3 separate regions of the Homo sapiens genome follow, and regions 1 and 3 are each linked to region 2. Evidence: promoter capture Hi-C in 16 types of primary human blood cells and fetal thymus (Javierre and others, 2016). All regions are on one chromosome and are shown on one strand. The core of a region is centred on a gene start or on the middle of the fragment in contact, and the rest is flanking DNA. Distances in the headings are between cores, read along the strand shown.

Region 1 (4,401 bases), core at 1,036-3,535, 650 kb before region 2:
GTATTTGTTTTCATATAAGACATGGCAGAAAAAAAAACAAAGCAAAGATAGATTTAAGGAGTTTGGCTATGTGTAAAATTTGGAATCATAGGAACTGGGAGTCATAATTTAGAAGATTTTAAAATACATTTGGTCCATAAAGAAGAAATGTGAGGTGAACAGAAACAATATTATCAATGAAAGAAAGCAGGAAAGAGCTGGACAAAGGGCATACATTCAAAACACAAACTTGGCCAGGCGTGGCAGCACGCACCTGTAATCCCAGCTACTCAGGAGGCTGAGGCAGAAGAACTGAGTGAACCCAGGAGGCAGAGTTTGCAGTGAGCCAAGATTGTGCCACTGCACTCCAGCCTGGGCAACAGAGCAAGACTCCGTCTCAAAAAAAAAAAAAAAAAAAAAACCCACAAACTGAAAGAACAAAACAGCAGGTTTTTTATGAGATCACAAGAAAGGGAAAATCCAGATCAGATGGAAAATAAGGAATTACGGGAAGCTCAGGATACCCAGAGCCAACAGCCTCATGTTCTGTGCCAGAATGCATCTTAAAACGTGCACTCAGGATTCTTCCACAGCCGCTAAACTCGACACTCAGGATCCTCCCACAGCCGCTTAACTTGACACAATCCTTCCATAGCCGCTAAACTTGACACTCAGGATCCTCCCACAGCTGCTAAACTTGACATCGACCAGGCGTGCTCTTCACACTTACCTTGGAGAACTGCTCTCCGCCCTGCCCTCAACTCCTCTTCCTGCTCCAGCCAATAGATCACACTGGGTTGGAACAGGTGATGTCCTGTACACAGGGAAAGAGACATCGATGGAAGAGGCTCAGGCAGGGGATGACAAACCTACCCGTGAACAGGAACTACATTTCCTTTTTTTTATTATTTTTTGAGACAGCGTCTCGCGCTGTTGCCCAGGCTGGAGTGCAGTGGTGCAATCTCGGCTCACTGCAACGTCTGCCTCCTGGGTTCAAGTGATTCTCTTGCCTCAGCCTCCTAAGTAGCTGGGACTATAGGTGCCCGCCACCACGCCTGGCTAGTTTTTTGTATTTTTAGTAGAGATGGGGTTTCACCGTGTTGGTCAGAATGGTCTCAATCTCCTGACCTTGTGATCCGCCCACCCCGGCCTCTCAAAAGTGCTAGGATTACAGGCATGAGCCACTGCGTCTGGCGTCCCAGAGTGCTCGGATTACAGGCGTGAGCCACTGCGCCCAGCCTCCCAAAGTGCTGGGATTACAGGCATGAGCCACTGCGTCCAGCATCCCAGAGTGCTGGGATTACAGGCGTGGCCACCACACCCTGCCTCCCAGAGTGCTGGGATTACAGCCCTGAGCCACTGCGCCTGGCCTCCTAGAGTGCTGGGATTACAGCCCTGAGCCACTGCACCCAGCCTCCCAGAGTGCTCGGATTACAGCCCTGAGCCACTGCACCCAGCCTCCCAGAGTGCTCGGATTACAGCCCTAAGCCACTGCGCCTGGCCTCCCAGAGTGCTGGGATTACAGCCCTGAGCCACCGCGCCCGGCCTCCCAGAGTGCTGGGATTACAGCCCTGAGCCACTGCACCCAGCCTCCCAGAGTGCTCGGATTACAGGCATGAGCCACCGCGCCCGGCCAGGAACTACGTTTGTTTTTTTTTTGAGATGGAGTCTCGCTCTGTCACCCAGGCTGGAGTGCAGTGGCATGCCAGGAACTACATTTCTAAAGAATGCAGTGAAATTGTTTCAAAAGGGCTCAAAGTGCAAATACTCCATCCTTCTGCGCCCCAAAGAAACTGGTTATCTCTGATTCCTGAAGCCCACATTCAGGCTTAAATATACACGTAAAAACCACAAAGACTCTTACTCAAATAGGAAATAACAGAAGTGCAATAAGAGATCTTCATTCACTTGGGAAACTACTACCCAGTGGTTCTCAGTGTTAGAGTGAATTGGCATCGTCGGGAGGGCTTGTTACAGGAGAGATGACAGGCCCACCCCCAGGAGACATTCTGATCCAATGTGTCCCAGCTGAAGCCTCAGAATGCATGTTTCTAGAGGAGTGACGGTGATGCTCATGACCCCAGGACCACATTCTGGAAACGACCACACTAGCACCAAGCCTACTAGCACAGTTGTTATATCTCTTACTTCCCGTGGTACTCGGCTTTGCCGTCACCAACCCTGGAACACAGTAAGGACACATCAAGTATTGGTTCCACAGAAGTTGCAAAGGACGGTGGCAGCCTCACCTACTGAGGCCAGGTTCTCGTAGTTTTCCAGCATCACATCTCTGTAGAGGTCTCTCTGAGATGGGTCCAGTAAAGTCCATTCCTCCTGGGTGAAGTCCACAGCCACGTCGTCAAAGGTCACCGCGTCCTAAATCATCACACATGACGGTTGGAGCCTTCCAACGTGTCCATCGGTATTCACTGAAGAATGAGGAGGCGGGGCCCTACGCCTATGGGACTGTGAGGCCTCCTACTGTCTACCCCATGGCCCAGTGGTCCCAGGAACCCTTCTCTGCCCGCACACACGCCCTGTCGCTCTCCTCCAGTCACGCGCACCCTGTCGCTCTCCTCCAGTCACGCGTGCCCTGTCGCGCTCCTCCAGTCACGCGCACCCTGTCGCTCTCCTCCAGTCACACGGCCGCAACGACACCTCTAACATGTGAGCTTCTCTCACCACGCTCACTGGGCACTCCCCTCGCCTTATGTCCCTCTCCTGAGCACACTACAAACAAGTGGTAACTCGTGATGTGGAAATAAGTTCCCAGAGAGGATACCTTCCCCTTCCTTACCATGTGTCAGAGCACTAAGCAAAGTACGAAACACGCATTTGGCACAAGGGTGAAAATAATGAGTAATGTTGTGGCTGGGCGCAGTGGTGCAAGCCTGTAATCCCAGCCCTTTGGGAGGCCAAAGCGGGTGGATCACTTGAGATCAGCAGTTCAAGACCAGCCTGGCCAACATGGCAAAACCCCGTCTCTACTAAAAATACAAAAATTAGCCAGGCATGCTGGTGGGCACTTGTAATCCCAGCTACTTGGGAGGCTGAGGCAGGAGAATTGCTTGAACCTGGGAGGCGGAGATTGCAGTGAGCCGAGATTGGGCCATTGCTCTCCAGCCTGGGCGACAAAGCGAGACTCCGTCTCAAAAAAAAAAAGTAACACTGAAATACGGGGAGGATTTTCACAGTAACACCTGACCAGCCAGGCTCTTCTCCCTGGAGGCGTTCAACTAGGGACTCGGTCCTTGAGTGAGGCTGTGCAGACAAGTCTGCTCAGACAGAAACTTGTCTATCTGCTGAATACCAGTATGTTATTTTAAGAAAAAATACAGTTTTGGCATACCTGGTAACAATTTATCAGCCAGCCAGCCACCATCCCTGCTGCCTGTGTCTGTTCTTCATGAAGGCAGACTGAGTCCCTAGAAACATGACCTCCTAAAAAACAAAGAAGGCAAGAAGGCATGAGAACCCAGAGCTGACCCTAATTCCACACTCATGGACCCGGAAGTCATTCCATCCTAGCAGGAAATTATCACGTACTCCTGCACACTCAGGAAAACGCACACACACAGATATACAGTGTCAGGGAATTCCCACATACACCTGCACACTCAGGAAAACACACACACAAAGCCATACAGTACCTCAGGAAAACACACACACACACACAGCCATACACTTCCTCAAGAAAACACACACACACACAGCCATACACTGCCTGAGGAACACACACACACACACACAGTCATACAGAGCGAGGGAATTCCCATGTACTCTTGCACACTCAGGAAAAGACACACACAGCCATACAGTGCCTCAGGAAAACACACACATACAGCCATAAACTGCCTCAGGAAAATACACACACACACAGCCATACAATGCCTCAGGAAAATATAGTCCCTCAGGAAAATACACACACACACACACACACACACACACAGCCATACAGTGCCTCAGGAAAACACACACACAGAGCCATACAGTGCCTCAGGAAAACACACACAGACACACACACAGCCATACAGTGCCAGGGTAGTCTGTTTCGCCTGGTGACACAAAATGTTTGTGAGCTATGCCGCCCATCAGGAAATGGTAACAGGCTCCTATTGCAGATATGGAACGGTACGCCTTGAGGAACGTGACTCTTCATTTGCCCGTGGTGAGAAAACTCATGAAGGAGTTTACACATCATCCCTCCCCAAAGCACACACCCTGGGGCTGACTTACAGGTCAGCATTCTCTGGCTCACTCCAGCAGCTGCAATAGGAACCCGGAGCGTGACTACTCAGGCCCCGTCCATGGGCCTGATACACACACTGTGTATCAGGACCTAGAGCAGAGGCTCTGAGAAGGAGCCCCACCAGGACTTACCGTGGGCCAGGTCAGGGGCTGCCATCCTGGGAGGCTGACGGA
Region 2 (3,987 bases), core at 1,462-3,961:
CCAACTTTTATGCAAAACTAAATGTCTCCTCAAACTAGTTTTAAAAATCACACAATTGGCTGGGTGTGGTGGCTCATGCCTGTAATCCCAGCACTTTGGGAGGCTGAAGCGGGAGGATCACGAGGTTGGGAGTTCGAGATCACCTTGGCCAACACAGTGAAACCCCTGTCTCTACTAAAAATACAAAAATTAGCTGGGCATGGTGGCACGTGCCTGTAGTCCCAGCTACTCAGGAGGCTGAGGCAGGAGAATCACTTGAACCCAGGAGGAGGAGGTTGCAGTGAGCCGAGATCATGCCACTGCACTCCAGCCTGGGTAGCAGAGTGAGACTCCGTTTCAAAAAATAGTAATAAGGTGCTACGAAGGGAAACGTGGCCTCTTAAGTGTAGACAATGAAATGAGAAGTGTAGACAGGGGTGTCAGTAGAAGAGTCTCAACTGATACCCACGTTTGCAATTTGTGCTCAGTTTGGTCTTCTTACACTATCTATAACTGAAGATTTTCAGCACAATTTAGAACTAAATCCTTAGTCCTCTGATCCACCAGATGGGTGAACTTGCCTAAGGAATGAAATAACAAGTGCCCATCGTCCCGTCTCCGTTGCTTTCTGCATTTGGCAGATGATACTTGATAGATATTTGTTGAATACATGACAAAAAACTCGTTAATTGAGGAACTACCTGTTGCCTACCAGAAAGGAATTTAAAATAAGTGCCCAGGAGGAGGAGGTTGCGGTGAGCCGAGATCCTGCCACTGCACTCCAGCCTGGGCAACAGAGTGAGACTCCGTCTCAAAAAATAATAGTAATAATAAAGAGCAGGTGCTACCTCCCTTCCGAGCAGCCCCTCTGGGAGGATGCACAGACTCCAACGGCACTGCTGAAATGCAGAGCGTTTGGGGACCTTCTCATTGCGAATGACCTTCCAAGCCTAAAGAAGTCTTCTGGTATTCTTAGTGGTGGCAAATCTTCCTCCTCTCAAGCTAGTCACTTTGATAAAGTGCTGCAAGTCAGAGTCTCACCTGATAAGGTGAGCTACCAACCACGTAAGTAAACTTTTGGTCAAACCTGGAGGGTGACTATTGAATAAGACTGATTTTCCCATATGACTACATTTTTACTACCACAACAGGAGTTCTAAAGAGATTCTGGCAAAGAAGCACCGATGAAATACAAGCACATTTTGGGACAATTACTTTCAACAGAGCAGTACCTATTTGAATGCCTAAGTTCTGGTACATCTGGTTAAAATTCTGACTCATAACCTCATGGACTTAAAATATCTAAATGAACGTTATCAAGGTTGGTGACAGACCCCACGTGCAAAGTGACCAAGCGTGACCACTAAACTCCTTGATAAAGAGGTACTCACCTTGAGATGCTCTGTAGCTGTGACAAAATACAAATCTCTGTAAACACGATGTAGGCCATAGGTTAACTTACCTGTTTGCTTTCTGGAGTGACTCCACAAAGCTTTCTTACAATATTTCAGCATGTCCCACCTACAACGGGAGAGGAGTTTCCGGCTTTGGGACACATTTGACTGGTTCCAGGGCTGGCTGGGCTCCATACTGCCCTTAGATAGTAAAATTATCAGGAAAAGACTCTCCTCCCAAAGCTGGGAAGCGGGATTCAGCCGAGGTCAAACCTCACCCGGATAATCCCAACTACTGAACGGGAAAGGACTACTCTACAGACAACAGGCTGGAGGTGAGTCTAACAGGAGACATGATGAGCACCTTGCTACACCCCAAACGGTACTTCAGATGCCAAACACTCTCTTCTTCCATTTTCCCAAATGGGTCTGAAGAATGACCTACTCTTGCAAATGAGTTAGCGTTGTTCGAACAAAGCTCATTTAAAACGGCCACTCTACCCGGCAAACTCAGTTGTCATAAAGTATTCAGGAAAAATGTTTGGCAGGAGTAAGGCTGTTAAGTTTCAGTTCTTCCAGCATTATAGCTGCAGTTGGTCTATATAAAGGACCCAGCACCTCTGATCTCCTAATCCAAGGGGCAAGGAAGTTACATACTCCTAAGAGACCGGCGCGCGTCTTGGGGCAATCACTGCGCCCAACCTGTGCACACTTTGAAGCTGCGGAGCAAGTTCCAGGAGGTTCATAAAGAGCTCAAAGTTCTCCGAAGAGCCCAGCAGCAGCCCGGGATGACCTACTCTGGAGGTGAATCTGGGCGCCTCTCACCGCCCCTTAGCCGGCGGCACACATGTGCCACGCGAGTGGCCCGGAAGAGAAATGACAGCTTCAGGAAAATAAACTCTGCCGCGGGGCGCGGAGGCAGCGCGCGAGGAGCTCGGGCGCCCAGGGCGCCCCAGGACCGCGGGGCCGGCTTACGGACGGAACTCGGGGTGGTGCCTGTCTCAAGGTCCCCTTCCCTGGGCCCGAGGGCCACGCTTCGGCCGGTGGGTCCGCACGGCCGGAGGCGCGCCGGGCTCCCGGGCCTCCCTCCCGCGGCCGCCGCCGCCGCCTCGGCGGCCTCCTCCTCCCGCCGCCGCCGGCCCGGCCTCCCGCCGCCCTCCCGGCCCCAGCTAACCTCAGCGCTAGGGCGGAGAGGAGGCCACGGCTCCCCTGGAGTCGGAGCGGCGTGGAGAAGACGTCCCTTGGCCCTTCCGCTCTTCACAGGTTCTGGCTCCAGGCTCGACACGGGCGGAACAAACGGGCTCCACTACCCGCGGGGGCCGGCCATTGTGCGACGTCATCAGGCCGCGACGGTAGTCCTACGGCCGGCGGGCTTCCCTCCCTCGCCCCGCCCCCTCCAGCTTCCTTCCGGCCTCCGCGCGGTTCCGCCCCCGCAGCGCGCGCCCGGACCCGCGCGAGCCAGCCGAACCCCCGCTACAGCGCAGGCGCCACGGGGAGTTCGCTTCTCAGGCGGCGGGCGTGCGGATCCGCGCCTGCGCACAGAGCTCCCCGCGGCCGCCGGGTCACGTGACGGGGCTCCGGCTGGGCCGGCGGGTTCTTCATCCCCGGGGATGATCGAGTTCATCAAAGTGGAAAACTTAAGGCGGTCTTCGTCGGGCTGATACTTCCTGCTTTATTGAATGTTGATATTAAATGCTTACCTCCGGAATTATTTTTTGAGGTATCGACTTTAGATTAAAAGCCTAACAATTCTTACCTTTCCCGTGGGCTGCCTGGCTCCCCGCGCGGTTCAACGCGAGCAGCGCCAGTGAGGGGACCTGTCGCGTGTCCTGCTCAGCGCGGTGTCCCACGGGCGCGTCCACAGCCCGGGGCGTCCAGGGGCTGCAGCGGTGCGAGCTGCTCTAGAGACGGAGGGCCCGGCCGGAGACCAGGGGCCGGCGGTTTCATCCTGCGCTGACCCTTGCCAACGACGTGGCTGGTCCTGGGGATCACAGGGCTTCGCTCATCCCATCTTCCTCCATATCCCCAAGGTGGAAACAAGGGGGCGAGATGTCCACAAACTGAGGAACAGACAAAATGCTGGCTGTCCATGCAGTGGAGTGTGAGTCAGTCATCAAGAAGAGTGAAGTTCAGACCCATGCCACAACATGGGTGAACCTTGGAAACATACTAAGTAAAGCAAGCCAATCGCAAAAGGACAAAACCTGTGCGACTCCATGCTATGGACCGAGTTCTGTCCCCCTAACATTTGTATGTGAAGCCTTAATCCCCAATGTGACTGTGTTTGCAGAAAGGGCCTTTAGAGAAGTAATTAAGGTTAAATGAGATTATAAGGGTGGGGTCCTGATCTGATAGGATTAGTGTCCTTGGAAGAGGTACCACAGGCCTGGCACTGTGGCTCACACCTGTAATCCTAGCACTTTGGGAGTCCAAGGTGGGAGGACCACCTCCTCCAGGAGTTTGAGACCAGCCTGGGCAACAAAGCAAGACCCCTGTCTCTACAAAAAAATTAACAGGGCACCGTGGTGCGTGCCTGTAGTCCCAGCAACTTGTTATGGTTACGTAAGAGGAATGTGAATTCAACCCTGGTGATTTTGGGTCGTGTCAGGAGCAG
Region 3 (4,234 bases), core at 1,038-3,537, 600 kb after region 2:
AAAATCCAAGTCAACACCGACAACAGAACGAGGTGACAGCATATTCCTCAAGAACCCCAAACACAAGCAGATGGGGACACTGGAAGCCACAAGGTCAGCATGGCACACGGGCATAGGATGGAGGAAGCAAAGGGAAGCAGGAGCCAGGCCGAGAGCAGCAGCTGCAGGATCCACCAGGAGAACCACACAGGGGCCTGCAGGGCTGACCCAGAGGCCAGAGTGTTCTGGACCCCAAGCCCTCTCAAAACGCATTATCCAAAGCTCCCTTTTAGGCCAAATACATTGAAAAGAAACGGCTTGGAACTGAACACAAAATGTGCAGGGCACGGAAACTAGAGACAAAGGAACATGAAAGCTCATTAAAGGTGGGAGGGGAGAACAGAGCCTAGAGAGCTGAGAAAAGAAGCTGCTGTATTTTTAAAACTTCCTATAAACAACACAGGAAAGAACCCAAAACACTGAAATTAGAGAAACGATTCTAAACCAAGCCTCCCTTCTGAGCATTCAGAAAAGCAAAAATCATATAAAAATGAGCAACAGAAACTACTGAGGCCAAATATCATGCAAAAATCATGTATTTCTTAAAAGAATAAGAAGCAAAATAACATCACTGCAGACAATGAAAACATTCTAGAAACATATATCCCCCAAAAAGACGAAAACTAAAAAGAAAAAAAAAACTATACCCTGATAATTCAAAACAAACTGAAATACATTAAACACATAACACACATTAACCAGAAACCAGCATTAGAAAAACTCAGAAACAAGGTGCTAGAACTCAGAATATATTAGAAACAAAAGAAAAAGTAACTTCAGAAATGAAGATTAAACTAGAAGAACCTTAGAACAAATAAACACAATGGTGCCTTAAGAAAAATAAAATGACAAAATTTTCAAGAATAAAAAAGAAATGAAAGAGATGAAAAAAGCTCAAGAAAAAGTAGCACATAAGACAGGAAAAGAAGACCCAACATATGTATAATAGGAGATGCTAAAGATGAAAACTGGCCAGGCACAGTGGCTCATGCCTGTAATCCCAATACTTTGGGAGGCTAAGGCAGGAGGACCATTTGAGGTTGATAGCTCAAGAGCAGCCTGGGCATGTACCGAGACCCCGACTCCATAAAATATTTTTTAAATTAACTGGGTACAGTGGCACCTGCCTGTGGTCCCTGCTACTCAGGAGGCTGAGGTGGGAAAATCACTTGAGTCTGGGAGGGCAAGGCTGTGGCAAGCTGTGATCGCACCACTACACTCCACCCTGGACAACAGAACGAGACCCTGTCTCGAAAAAAGGAAAACTAAAGCAATGAAATGGAATACCAAAAACTGTAATTCAAGAAAGCTCTCCAGAAAACAGGACGGAGGGTGCTTGAAACTACTCGTTAAAATAATACACTACAACCTAGGGGGAAAAAAACAAAAACAAAACCACCAACACCAAGACACAACACCAAGATACAACACCAAGACAGAACACCAAGATACAGCCCAATAAAAACACTATTTAAAGAAAAATTTTTTAGCCATCCAAGCAAAAGACTAGGTGACTTATAACGGAAAGAAAATTAACTATCAAACTCCAACAGAAAAAAAAAAGGATTAACGTATTTAAGACACACAAGGAAAGATATGTGAGCCAAGAATTTTATATCCAGACAAAATTACTTTCAAGTATAAAGGCAGCATCCAGTCCTCAGAGAACAGTATTCCCAAAAATTCCCTCCTGAAGGCACTGGCAACAAACAAGCTTCGGAAAACCAAACCACTGGAGAGGCATTGGGAAGAGCGGCTAGCGGAGCACCCTATCTCCACGCAGGACTGAGACAGAGGAGATGAAGGCTATGTGCTAAACGCAGACACAATGTAACTGCTTGAAACTGGGAGGAATTGGGAGTACATATAAAAAACAAATGTAACAACTTTCAAAAACAAAAACCAATGTTACAATGTTCACAATGTTCAATGGCTATAAGGAGTGGTAGAGTTCTTTCTGAGCAATTTTCAAAAACTAACAAAAACAAATGTTACAATGTTCATTCAGTGGCGGTAAGAAGTGGTAGAGTTCTTTTTTTTTTTTTTGAGATGCAGTCTCACTCTGTTGCCCAGGCCAGAGTGCAGTGGCAGGATCTCGGCTCACTGAAACCTCCGCCTCCTGGGTTCAAGCGATTCTCCAGCCTCAGCCTCCCGAGTAGCTGTGATTATAGGTGCCCACCAGCACACCTGGCTACTTTTTGTATTTTAGTAGAGACGGGGTTTCCCTCTGTGGCCAGGCTGGTCTCAAACTCCCGACCTCAGGTGATTCGCCCACCTCAGCCTCCCAAAGTGCTGGGATGACAGGCCGAGCCACCGCGCCCGGCCGGTAGAGTTCTGTCTGAGGACGCCTTGCCTTGTGTGCAATTCTGTCATCCCTGATGCCCTTGTGAACAAGAAAAGCAGACTATCAACAACGGTAACAACTTCACTGGGTTGAAAGGGAAATATTTTTAAATTCATGAGTTAATAATATTATTAAGCCTTTAATTTGTTTAATGGTAATAAAAAGAAAAAATCAAGCATTTATTCTGCCTTTCTATACAAATCACGTCACTGAAAAACCACATCATAAGCAATAGAATGTTTCTCTGTATAAAAGCATTCTAACAAAAGAACAGTCATCGTTTTGCAATCCCTGATGAATTAAGAATCTAGGTAACAGAGTTACCATCAGAAAAAGAAAAACACACACTATCTGCCTCATTAATGAAGAATTCAGCACCATCTATGTGGGAGGCTCCCCTACCGAACAAACAAAAATGCTGAATCTAATTAAGCTTCTAGAATCCTAACATTTCCTAAGTGACAGGATATACAGAGGCCAGAAGAACATGCTAAACTATACCACAGAAATGCAAATAGGAAAATCAAAATCAAGACTAGGAAACTCACATCTGTCATCCCAGCACTTTGGAAGGCCAAGGCGGGTGGATCACCTGTCAGCCTGGCCAATGTGGCAAAACCCCATCTCTACTAAAAATACGAAAATTAGCAGGGTATGGTGGCACATGCCTGTAATCCCAGCTACTAAGGAGGCTGAGAAAGGAGAATCGCTTAAACCCGGGAGGCGGAGGTTGCAGTGAACTGAGACCGTGCCACTGCACTCCAGCCTGAGTGACAGAGCAAGACTCTGTCAAAAAAAAAAAAAAAAAAGACCAATCAACCTAATCAAAAATGAGCATAAGGAAATGAAAATGAATTCACAGAAAAACAAGTTATGTAAAGATAGTCAGGCCAGGCGTGGTGGCTCATGCCTGTAATCCAGCACTTTGGGAGGCTAAGGTGGGTGGATCAAGAGGTCAGGTGTTCGAGACCAGCCTAGCCAACATGGTGAAAGCCCGTCTCTACTAAAGATACAAAAAATTAGACGGGGATGGCGGCGCGTGCCTGTAATCCCAGCTACTGAGGAGGCTGAGGCAGGAGAATCGCTTGAAATGGGGAGGCAGAGGTTGCAGTGAGCTGAGATCACGCCATTGCACTCCACACTGGGTGACAGGGGGAGACTCTGTCTCAAAAAAAAAAAAAAAAGTCAATCTCGATGTGTAATCTTTTTAAAACAATTTAAACAAGACAACATTTTTCACCAATCAGATTGGCAAAAATCACAAAATATGACACACTTCGCCAGAAGATATCAGAAAACATGGCTGTTGCGCTTTTGCTGGGGGTGTAAATGGGTACAACCTCTTTGAAGGGCAATAGCTATCAAAATGCTAAATGGCCACAGCCCTTAACCTGGCCATGCCCCACACAACATTCAGCCAGCACAGACATTCACATATGTGTGCAAAGACCTACATACAAACAACAACAACAACAACAACAACAACAAAACAACGTAAGGCATTGTTTTTAGCAGCAAAAGAATGGATGTCAGCATTGCATAGCTAAGAATGGAATATACCACGCAGCTTCAGGAGTCAACAAGAGCCCCCGAAAAGCGGCTCCCAAGGTGCAGGATCCCGTGAATATCAACTGGGCAGGGCAGTGTGGACGAGGGCAGTGCAGACGACATGCTTTATTTTTAAGAAGTATGTCAGATATGCACAGAATATTTCCAGGTTAAGATACAGAAGACCTACAACAGCCTGGGGCATGGGTGAAAAGGAAATTATTTTTCACTTTTCATCCTCTAATAATATTTCCATTTTTATCCTGTGCATTTATCACTTTTTCAAAAAGAAAAAGAAGTATA

What was found. Contacts are between HindIII fragments. The CHiCAGO score rates a contact against its expected background, and 5 or more counts as called.
Region 1: a fragment that was not itself captured here is called in contact with the fragment with the promoter of ZC3H18 in region 2 in 8 of 17 cell types (naive B cells, neutrophils, total CD4 T cells and 5 more); the score reaches 9.2 in naive B cells.
Region 3: a fragment that was not itself captured here is called in contact with the fragment with the promoter of ZC3H18 in region 2 in 1 of 17 cell types (endothelial precursors); the score reaches 9.4 in endothelial precursors.

The regions. Positions count from the first base shown.
Region 1 is chr16:89,221,111-89,225,511 of GRCh38, reverse strand. ZNF778 (zinc finger protein 778) reads right to left here. Exons shown (of 7, transcript NM_001201407.2): 2 at 4,360-4,401; 3 at 3,329-3,420; 4 at 2,229-2,355; 5 at 710-793. The coding sequence starts at 4,384. Among named protein-coding and RNA genes, the nearest start is that of ZNF778, 5.6 kb to the right of the region's middle. The HindIII fragment of the contact is 7,033 bases long and covers 1-4,401 here.
Region 2 is chr16:88,569,127-88,573,113 of GRCh38, reverse strand. ZC3H18 (zinc finger CCCH-type containing 18) reads right to left here and starts at 2,711. Exons shown (of 18, transcript NM_144604.4): 1 at 2,548-2,711. RefSeq lists enhancers at 2,121-2,170, 3,261-3,310, 3,421-3,530 and silencers at 2,441-2,510, 2,691-3,020. The HindIII fragment of the contact is 17,903 bases long and covers 1,474-3,987 here.
Region 3 is chr16:87,968,868-87,973,101 of GRCh38, reverse strand. All of the region lies in intron 1 of BANP (BTG3 associated nuclear protein), which reads right to left. Among named protein-coding and RNA genes, the nearest start is that of BANP, 20 kb to the right of the region's middle. The HindIII fragment of the contact is 1,063 bases long and covers 1,756-2,818 here.